Linked DNA regions of Homo sapiens: regions 1 and 2 are each linked to region 3. The links are contacts of gene promoters, found by promoter capture Hi-C in human tissues and cell types (Jung and others, 2019). All regions are on one chromosome and are shown on one strand. Each heading gives the region's core, a stretch centred on a gene start or on the middle of the fragment in contact. The rest is flanking DNA. Distances are from core to core; before and after follow the strand shown.

What was found. Contacts are between HindIII fragments. The study calls those that stand out against the background at their distance.
Region 1: a contact is called between a fragment that was not itself captured here and the fragment with the promoter of RABIF in region 3, in 3 of the 25 tissues and cell types used here (hippocampus, mesenchymal stem cells and small bowel).
Region 2: a fragment that was not itself captured here is called in contact with the fragment with the promoter of RABIF in region 3 in 1 of the 25 tissues and cell types used here (adrenal gland).

What each region holds. Positions count from the first base shown.
Region 1 is chr1:202,744,234-202,746,948 of GRCh38, forward strand. KDM5B (lysine demethylase 5B) reads right to left here. Exons shown (of 27, transcript NM_006618.5): 15 at 1,909-2,090; 16 at 1,625-1,749. Among named protein-coding and RNA genes, the nearest start is that of SYT2, 35 kb to the left of the region's middle. The HindIII fragment of the contact is 4,315 bases long and covers 1-2,715 here.
Region 2 is chr1:202,714,903-202,717,602 of GRCh38, forward strand. No RefSeq gene overlaps it. Among named protein-coding and RNA genes, the nearest start is that of SYT2, 5.8 kb to the left of the region's middle. The HindIII fragment of the contact is 3,632 bases long and covers 1-2,700 here.
Region 3 is chr1:202,887,772-202,890,471 of GRCh38, forward strand. It overlaps RABIF (RAB interacting factor), which reads right to left and starts at 1,378. Exons shown (of 2, transcript NM_002871.5): 1 at 1,202-1,378. The coding sequence starts at 1,327. RefSeq lists a silencer at 784-1,073 and an enhancer at 1,144-1,413. The HindIII fragment of the contact is 13,847 bases long and covers 1-2,700 here.

The DNA of each region.
Region 1 (2,715 bases), core at 57-2,556, 140 kb before region 3:
CATCACTGATCATTAGAGAAATGCAAATCAAAACTACAATGAAAGGCCGGGCGCAGTGGCTCACGCCTGTAATCCCAGTACTTTGGGAGGCCGAGGCAGGCAGATCACAAGGTCAGGAGTTCAAGGCCAGCCTGACTAACATGGTGAAATCCTGTCTCTACTAAAAATACAAAAATTAGCTGGGCATGTTGGCACGTGCCTGTAGTCCCAGCTACACAGGAGGCTGAGGCAGGAGAATTGCTTGAACCCAGGAGGTGGAGGTTGCAGTGAGCCGAGATCGCACCACTGCACTCCAGTCTGGGTGACAGAGCAAGACTCCGTCTCAAAACAAAAACAAAAACAAACAAAAAAAACACCACAATGAGATATCACCTCATACCAGTCAGAATGGCTATTATTAAAAAGTCAAAAAGTAACATGCTGGCAAGGTTGTGGAGAAAAGGGAACGCATATACACTGTTGGTAGAAGTGTAAATTAGTTCAACGATTGTGGAAGACAGTGTGGTGATTCTTCAAAGATCTAAAGACTGAAATACCATTTGACCGAGCAATGCCATTACTGGGTATATACCCAAAGGAATATACATCATTCCATTTATAAAGACACATGCATGTGTATGTTCACTGCAACACTATTCACAATAGCAAAGACATAGAATCAACCTAAATACCCATCAATGATAGACTGGATAAAGAAAAATGTGGTACATATACACCATGGAATACTATGCAGCCATAAAAAAGAATGAGCTCGTGTCCTTTGCAGGAACATGGATGGAACTGGAGGCAATTAGTTAGCAAACTAACACTAGGAACAGGAAAGCAAATACTGCATATTCTCACTTATTAAGTGGGAGCTAAATGATGAAAACACATGGATGCATACAGGGGAGTAACACGTGAACACATACAGGGGAACAACACACAATGGAGCCTATTGGAGGGTGGAGGGCAGGAGGAGGGAGAGGCTCCAGAAAAATAACTAATGGGTACTAAGCTTAATACCTGGATGATGAAATAATCTGTACAACAAACGCCCATGACACAAGTTTATCTATGTAACAAGCTTGCACATATACCCCTGAGGTGAAAAGTAAAAAGCAAAAAACAAACTATATTTTCATAAGAAAAAAGAGAGAGAGAGATATAAAGGGTAGCAGTGACTTTCAAAGGTAATGACAAGTGCCAGGGACCTTAACTTTAATTAGAACTAAGAAGTGATAAACTACCATTTCAGAGACTCCTGATTTAGTGTCATGCTGCCTTTGTCACAAGATGCTTTGTTTTTGTTTTTGTTTTTTTAAAGATTTCAACATCTTTGTAAGAAATGTGAAATTTTTATTTCTGAGACAAAAATAAAGGTTTCCTAACAATATCGTTTTTGTTAAGTAAGTGATGTTGCACAACTCATATAACAAAATTTCACTGGGATGTAAGGGCAACTGCCTTATCCACTCTTGGTTTTAAAACCTTCTCTGCCGGTGCTCTGTAAACCGGGCTATGTAGAGGGGCTAACCAAGGATGAGGTCAGGCTGTTTCAAGAAATGTTTTGTTGACTTTAATTTGGCTACATCACAATAAGCCCCAATTTGCCAATCACCAAGTCACTTTCTGTATCACATACTTTTCTTCTTGTTGATCTTTGCCTCCAAAGCTTCATTCACATTCAAGGCCCATTCGTTGTAAGATTCTGCTCGAAGCTTCAATGCATTCATCATAGGGTAGAGATCATCCAGCGTGTACCTATACCTGGAAATAATACCACCACACTTAGCTTTGAGACGTGTAGCTTTGGAGAAAACTAGATGTTTTATACTTAACATTTCAGCCCTAGAACTGCGGTATCATTGAGCTTTTAGTAAGGATCAACTGTTTTCCATAGGAAAAAAAATCGTTCTTCCTACTTACCGCAATTTATATTTGTAAGGAGGACAGGAACACAATTCTTTTACATGATGCAGGCAAACAAGAAGGCCAGGTTTACAAGAACAGGAGATGGCAGACATGAAGCATGTAGTTTTGCATTTTACACACTGACGTTCATCATCTGGCAACAGCTCAAAATCCATTCTTTCCGAATCAATCACTCCCTAGAATAAAGTATACTTTAGAGAGACCTCCAAAGGATAATATAATCCACCAGCCCAAGACAAACATGCAGTAGTACTTGAGTCTGAAAAAAAAAAAAAAGCTTTACCAAAATAGGGATGCATGATTAAAAATGTGTGGCATACAAAGAAACAAATGACCTAGCAAATACAGGCAAGTTCATTTGTCTAGGGAGATCTCCTTTTTCAGACAAGGCAGGTCCTTATGTTTGGTCATTTTGATCTGAGTATGAACACCATAGGACTGTAAAACTACTGAGATTAGTTATCTGTTCTACTACAAATTAGCCTTGTCCACATTTTGGGTATAGATAAGAGGTATAGATAAGATTAAAAGAAAGGAATATGTTTCCTACTTCTGAGGAAATATGGAGAATCTATTAAAAGGACAAAAATAAAAGGAAAGAAGATGGGACGAGTGGAAAAGACTATCGTGCAGAAATTGAGTTTGGGAAGATGCTGAGTGGTCTCTCAGCCTTTTACAGGAAGTTATATGAAAGGATATCATTAACTGAATAGTTAGAAAATTTGTGCAATAGCAAAGACTAAAGTCATAATTAAACATTTCCTCCTAAAAGACTGTCAGGAAAAATAAGGTCTTGAACCA
Region 2 (2,700 bases), core at 108-2,607, 170 kb before region 3:
CTATAATTATTTCTTCTCTATGCAATGAACAAAATAAAAACAAATAACTCTGAGCTCAGATAAAATGTTTAAATACAACAGAATGGGGCAGACAGAGGACTACTGGATCTATAACATTATACTCCTAGAGGGGAAGCTTTTTAAAGTTTTCAAGACCATATCTGGCATGTGGAAGAAAGTCACTAGGATGCAAATAATAATCACAGAATTTTATCAGATCCCAGGAACTAAAGAATGTCATGAGGACCTTGTCTTTTCATATAGTAACAATGATTGTTTTTCCTTCTCAAAGGAAATATCAACCTACAACACCAGAGCAGACCCTTCTTCCTTCTGCAATGAAGTACCAGTCACAGTTTTATGTCCCAGGTAAGTTTCGCTGAGCCTCAGTTTTCCCCCTCTCATAGAAGAGAAGGTTCTTCTGAGGTGCTCACCTTCCGGAATGTGAAGAGCAAATGGCTCAGACTACTAATCACACAAGGGCAGGATGTCTCTTCTTACCAGAAGGCAACTGTAGGCTTTGAAGCTACCCATCATGGGGGAGATGAAAAGCAAGTCAGTTGAAACATTTTCTGAATAATTAACCCTGGTGCTTTAATATCCGTGTGTCCATTAAAACTCTCCATAAATTGGAGTTGTATCTCAGAACTGCCCTTGGGATGTGCCCTAGCTGTGGAAGGCAAGCACCAAAGCACAAGAAGCCACAGCAGAGACATGTGGGAAAGAAGCTCTAGGACTGATACGGTCCTTTCTTCAGTATCCCAAGTCCATCTGCCACTCTTCTCTGTAGCTCAGGAGCAAATCTGGAACAAGTCTCTTAAGCTTCGTATTTGTCCACGTACCCATCACCTATCCAGTCAATAACATTTACCACGGCCGGGTGCGGTGGCTCACGCCTGTAATCCCAGCACTTTGAGAGGCCGAGGTAGGAGGACCAGCTGAGGTAAGGAGTTAAAGACCAGCCTGACCAACACGGTGAAACCCTGTCTCTACTAAAAATACAAAAATTAGCTGGGCGTGGTGGCAAGCGCCTGTAATCCCAGCTACTTGAGAGGCCGAGGAAGGAGAATCTCTTGAATCTGGGAGGTGGATATTGCAGTGAGCCGAGATTGCACCACATCCTGGGTGACAAGAGCAAAACTCGGTCTCAAAAAAGAAAAAGAAAACAAACAAACAAACAAACAAAAACACCCGGAAAAAAGCAATTGCCTAGAGTGCAGATAATACCACCACCCAGGGTATTATCTGTCAGGAGCCCTGCAGGGAGCGGGCAACGTGGAGGGGAACACTTAAATACTTCAAGGATTTCACAGCCTCCTTGATGCAGGGAGTGAGAAACATGTACCAAAAGAAAAGTATAAGATGCTGTGGGAACCAGAGAGAGAGCCACTAACTCAACCTGGTAGGAAGTCAAGAAATAACGGCAGGCTTCCCTGATGAAATAACCTTTCAGCTACCACCAGAGGAAAGACTGGTTTTCTAGGTAGGCAATGAAGAGAATGGCATCCCAGGCAAAGACAGCAGTAGTGGATAAAAGTATACAGTGCACTCATTGAAGAGCTTAAGCACTGGAGTCAGAAAGCTATGTGACTACTCTAACGCCTCAGTTTCCTTATTTGTTAAATGAAGACTTCACCACCTACTTTGAGGGATTGTTGTGAAAATTAAATAGTATAATGGTTCTAAACAGCAAGCAGGGCCTTAACAAAATAGGTAGCTTCTATTATGTGGCTTAGGGAAATGTAAATAGCTCAGTGGAGCTAGAGTATAGGGTAGGTTTGGGGAGGAGGGAAAGATCAGAGGCAAAGGCAAGCTCATGACAGATTCTGTAGACCAACTGTTTGGATTTTCTTCAGAAGGTAATGGAAACCATTGAAGGAATCTAAGCATAATCCATTTTATGCTTTTAGAAAAACCACTCACAGCTGGAGTTGGGTTAGAGGGCCTGTAAGTTCCCTTCCTTTGCTGACTTCTGAAAGGAGGCTGCATACTACATACTGCCGTGCTCACCACTTTGGATTCTGGAGACAGACTTCCTGAGTTCCAATCTCGGCTCACCTCTCAGAGGCCATGAGTTAGTGACTTCATTTCATAGCAGCATGGTGAGAGTCAGCTTAGGTTATCTGATATCTAGGACAGTACCTGATGCTCAGTCAGTGCTCAGTGCGTATTGAGTATTACAGTAACTGTTATTATTTCTGGCTCCAGAAGACCAGCAAGCCTAATGATGATTCTCTACATTGTTTGCTCCAGAGAGGTTGAGTGACTTTCCCAAGGAAGCCCAGTGAGTCTAGAAGCCATGGGATAGCTGCCTACCTCCTCATACTGTCTAGGGCCTGGCTGGAGAAAAGTTCAAAAAGGAGGATTGAACACCCTTTGTTAGATCCTGTTCCTACCACCCTAACCCCTGGCCACAGAACATTGATTGCACATGGTCTCATTTCTAGACTCAAGATAGCTGTGTGTGTGTTCGTGTGTGCACGCACATGTGCACACATGCTAAGACCTACAAGCAAAACATGTTTATTGGTCTTTTTAATTATTTATTTTTGAGATGGAGTCTTGCTCTATTGCCTAGGCTGGAGTGCAGTAGTGCGATCTTGGCTCACTGCAACCTCCTCCTCCTGGGTTCAAGCAATTCTCCTGCCTCAGCCTCCCAAGTAGCTGGGATTACAGGCGCCCACCACCATGCCTGGCTAA
Region 3 (2,700 bases), core at 128-2,627:
GGGATTACAGGCATGAGCCACCGCGCCCAGCCTAACTGTTTTAATGTTAATGAATGATAGTCAGGACTCAATTCCATGTATGTTTCAATTCCAAGATCCATGTTCTTTCCACTGACTCCATAATGCCACTAACTTCGTAAAATTAATTGAGAACTCTACTCCTAAACCTTGAAGTCTTAAAAGAACCCCGGGACCTCCACCAATCTCTAGATCAAAAGTCATCAAAATACCTACAAAACAACAGACACAGATTCCCTTTTTTCCTCCTTTGATGAAAGGCTGTTTTGGACGAATGGGTACCTCTTGCTCTTCTACTAGACATTACACTTCACCATCTGTTCAAGCACGTGAAATAATAAAATGATCTGCATATTTTTAGAAATAATTTTGAATGATAGGATGTGTCTATGGTTGAAATGACATTATATTTGCACTTCAACACAGTTTACCGAAATAAATTTTTTTTTCAACTTTCTCACTTGCGATGATGGTGGTAGGAAGGGTATTAAAATCCCTAAACTGAAGGGAAAAAAAAAGTTTTTCTTCGAAATTTACTTCCAGGACGTCAGGGATCTACTGCACTTGAAATATGATTCATCTGGAAAACCACAGGCTTCCAGTGCCTCGGTAAAGTGGGTAGGTTACCAGGGTTATTTTGCCGCGTCCCCAACACCAGTTGTTCCTGGGGATCCTCTGTGGAGCAGATAGGTGCCCGTCATAAATGAGACGGTGAATTCAGGACTGGCGGGTGAGGTCTAAAGTGGGAAAGGAACCCAGCAACACCCGCGGTGAGCGGCGGCCGAGAGGCACCTGCCGGGTCCTGCAAGCTGGCGGGAGCTCCGAGAGCCGGAATGGGGCGCCTCCCTTCCACGCGCCCGCGGAGCACCGGCCTTGGACGGCGGCGGGGCGCACGGCCCGCGCTCGAAGCCCCCCCGGGGGCAGAGGGCCGGGCTGGCTGGGCCGGGTGGCCCAGGGAAGGGTTCCCGCGGCAAAAGATGCCGGGGCGGGACCCGGTTCCCTCCCTAGCCTTCAGCGGCCCCAGGGGCGGAGCCTCGCCGAGCTGAGGCCCGAGGGGCGGGGCTTAAGGCCGCGCGAGGAGGGCGCGGTTGCCGGAAATTGAAGAGCCGGGGTTCAGATTCTGACTGCGGCGGCTCGTCGGGGGAGACTGTGGGTGTAAACGGCCTCCAACCTGCCTCCCTACCTGTCGGCGAGAGAAGAGAGCGGTCCCTGGCTGCAGCACCCGGGAGCCGCAACGCTGGCACAGCACCGCCTTCCGGTTTCGGCCCTCGGCTGACACTAACTCGCTCGGCTGCTCCGCTGGTTCCATCGCCGCTGCCGCCACAGGCTCCTCAGCCACGGCTGCGCAGACGCTGTCTCTGCTGGCTCGTTATTCACTGCGCTGGCGCGGCTTGGCAGAGGCGGGGCGGCGAGCGGACGGTCACTATGTCTCTGCGCAGGCGCCCGCTTCCCCGCTCTGGACTCTACTGCGCAAGCGCCTTCATTCATTGCCTAACCTAAGTGGCTAGGTGTCGGCAGGCTTTGTGACAGGGACACTTCTTGGCACCAGTGACACATCTCCATACCCACCTGGCCACTGGGCTTCACTTAAAACCTAGACAAATCATTAGGTTGACCTTACTGTTTAGTTTTCTGGGATCTGAATTTAGTCTCCTGAATAAATGGGGACATTATTGGGGGCAATATGAAGGGAATCTGGGTCGGACTTCCCATCAAGTTTTAGCCACATTAGCTTCTTCTATAGGAAACTACTTAGAGGGGCATGTATCTTTTCGGTATTGGAAAAAGATGCGTGGAAACTTTAATTGCTGGTCTCTTCTACTCATTGTGACCATTTACTATGCGGCAAAATGTGTCAAAGCGCCTTTAGAAACTTACTAAATCATCAGTTTCCTTACGGGGTCGGCACGCTTGTGCACAAAATGAGAAAGGTAAAGATCAGAAAGGTTGCAGCACAACTCTAAAGCCACTGCTCTTAATTAACTAGGATTGTCAGGAAAGCAAGATTATTTCAGACAGAACAGTATTATATATGAACAAGGGTGAGAACAAATTTAGGAATGGTTAGTAGACCACTGTGGCTGACCCACATTACACGTGGGGAGAAGTGGTAGTAGAGGTAGGTAAGGCAGAGTGGGCCCAGAGCTCCATGGCTTTAATGTCATGCTAAGGAATTTAACATTAATAACATGAACAATGGGAATCTGTGGAATTTTAGGCCAGAAATAACTGTTCGATATTTACTGTCTGCTGTATGTTAAGCACTGTAATGATCCTATCTGTGCTTCAGAAAGATAACCTATGAATAAATAGAGGGGCTAGATTGAAGAGAGGAAAAAGAGTAGAGGTAAGGTATCAGGTAGCTATTACCTCATCAGTCTAGCTCAGAAAGGCCCTGAAGCTAGCAGAGGGAACAAAGATATGGGAATGGACTTGAAACAATTAAAATTGTACAGAACTTAGAAACTAGCTGGATGTCTGTATTGTGATGGGGGTGACACAAAGCAACTGCTGGTTTTCCCAGGTTAGATAACTAAGTAGCTGGTTGCCAGTTATGGGAGCTTAAAAAAATAAGATGAACCACCAAATTAGGGGTATCTCTGTGTATGTATGTGAGCACATGAAAGTGTGTACGATTGTGAAGAGTGAAAAAGGAGCTGTTTTACGTGTTGATTTTTCTGT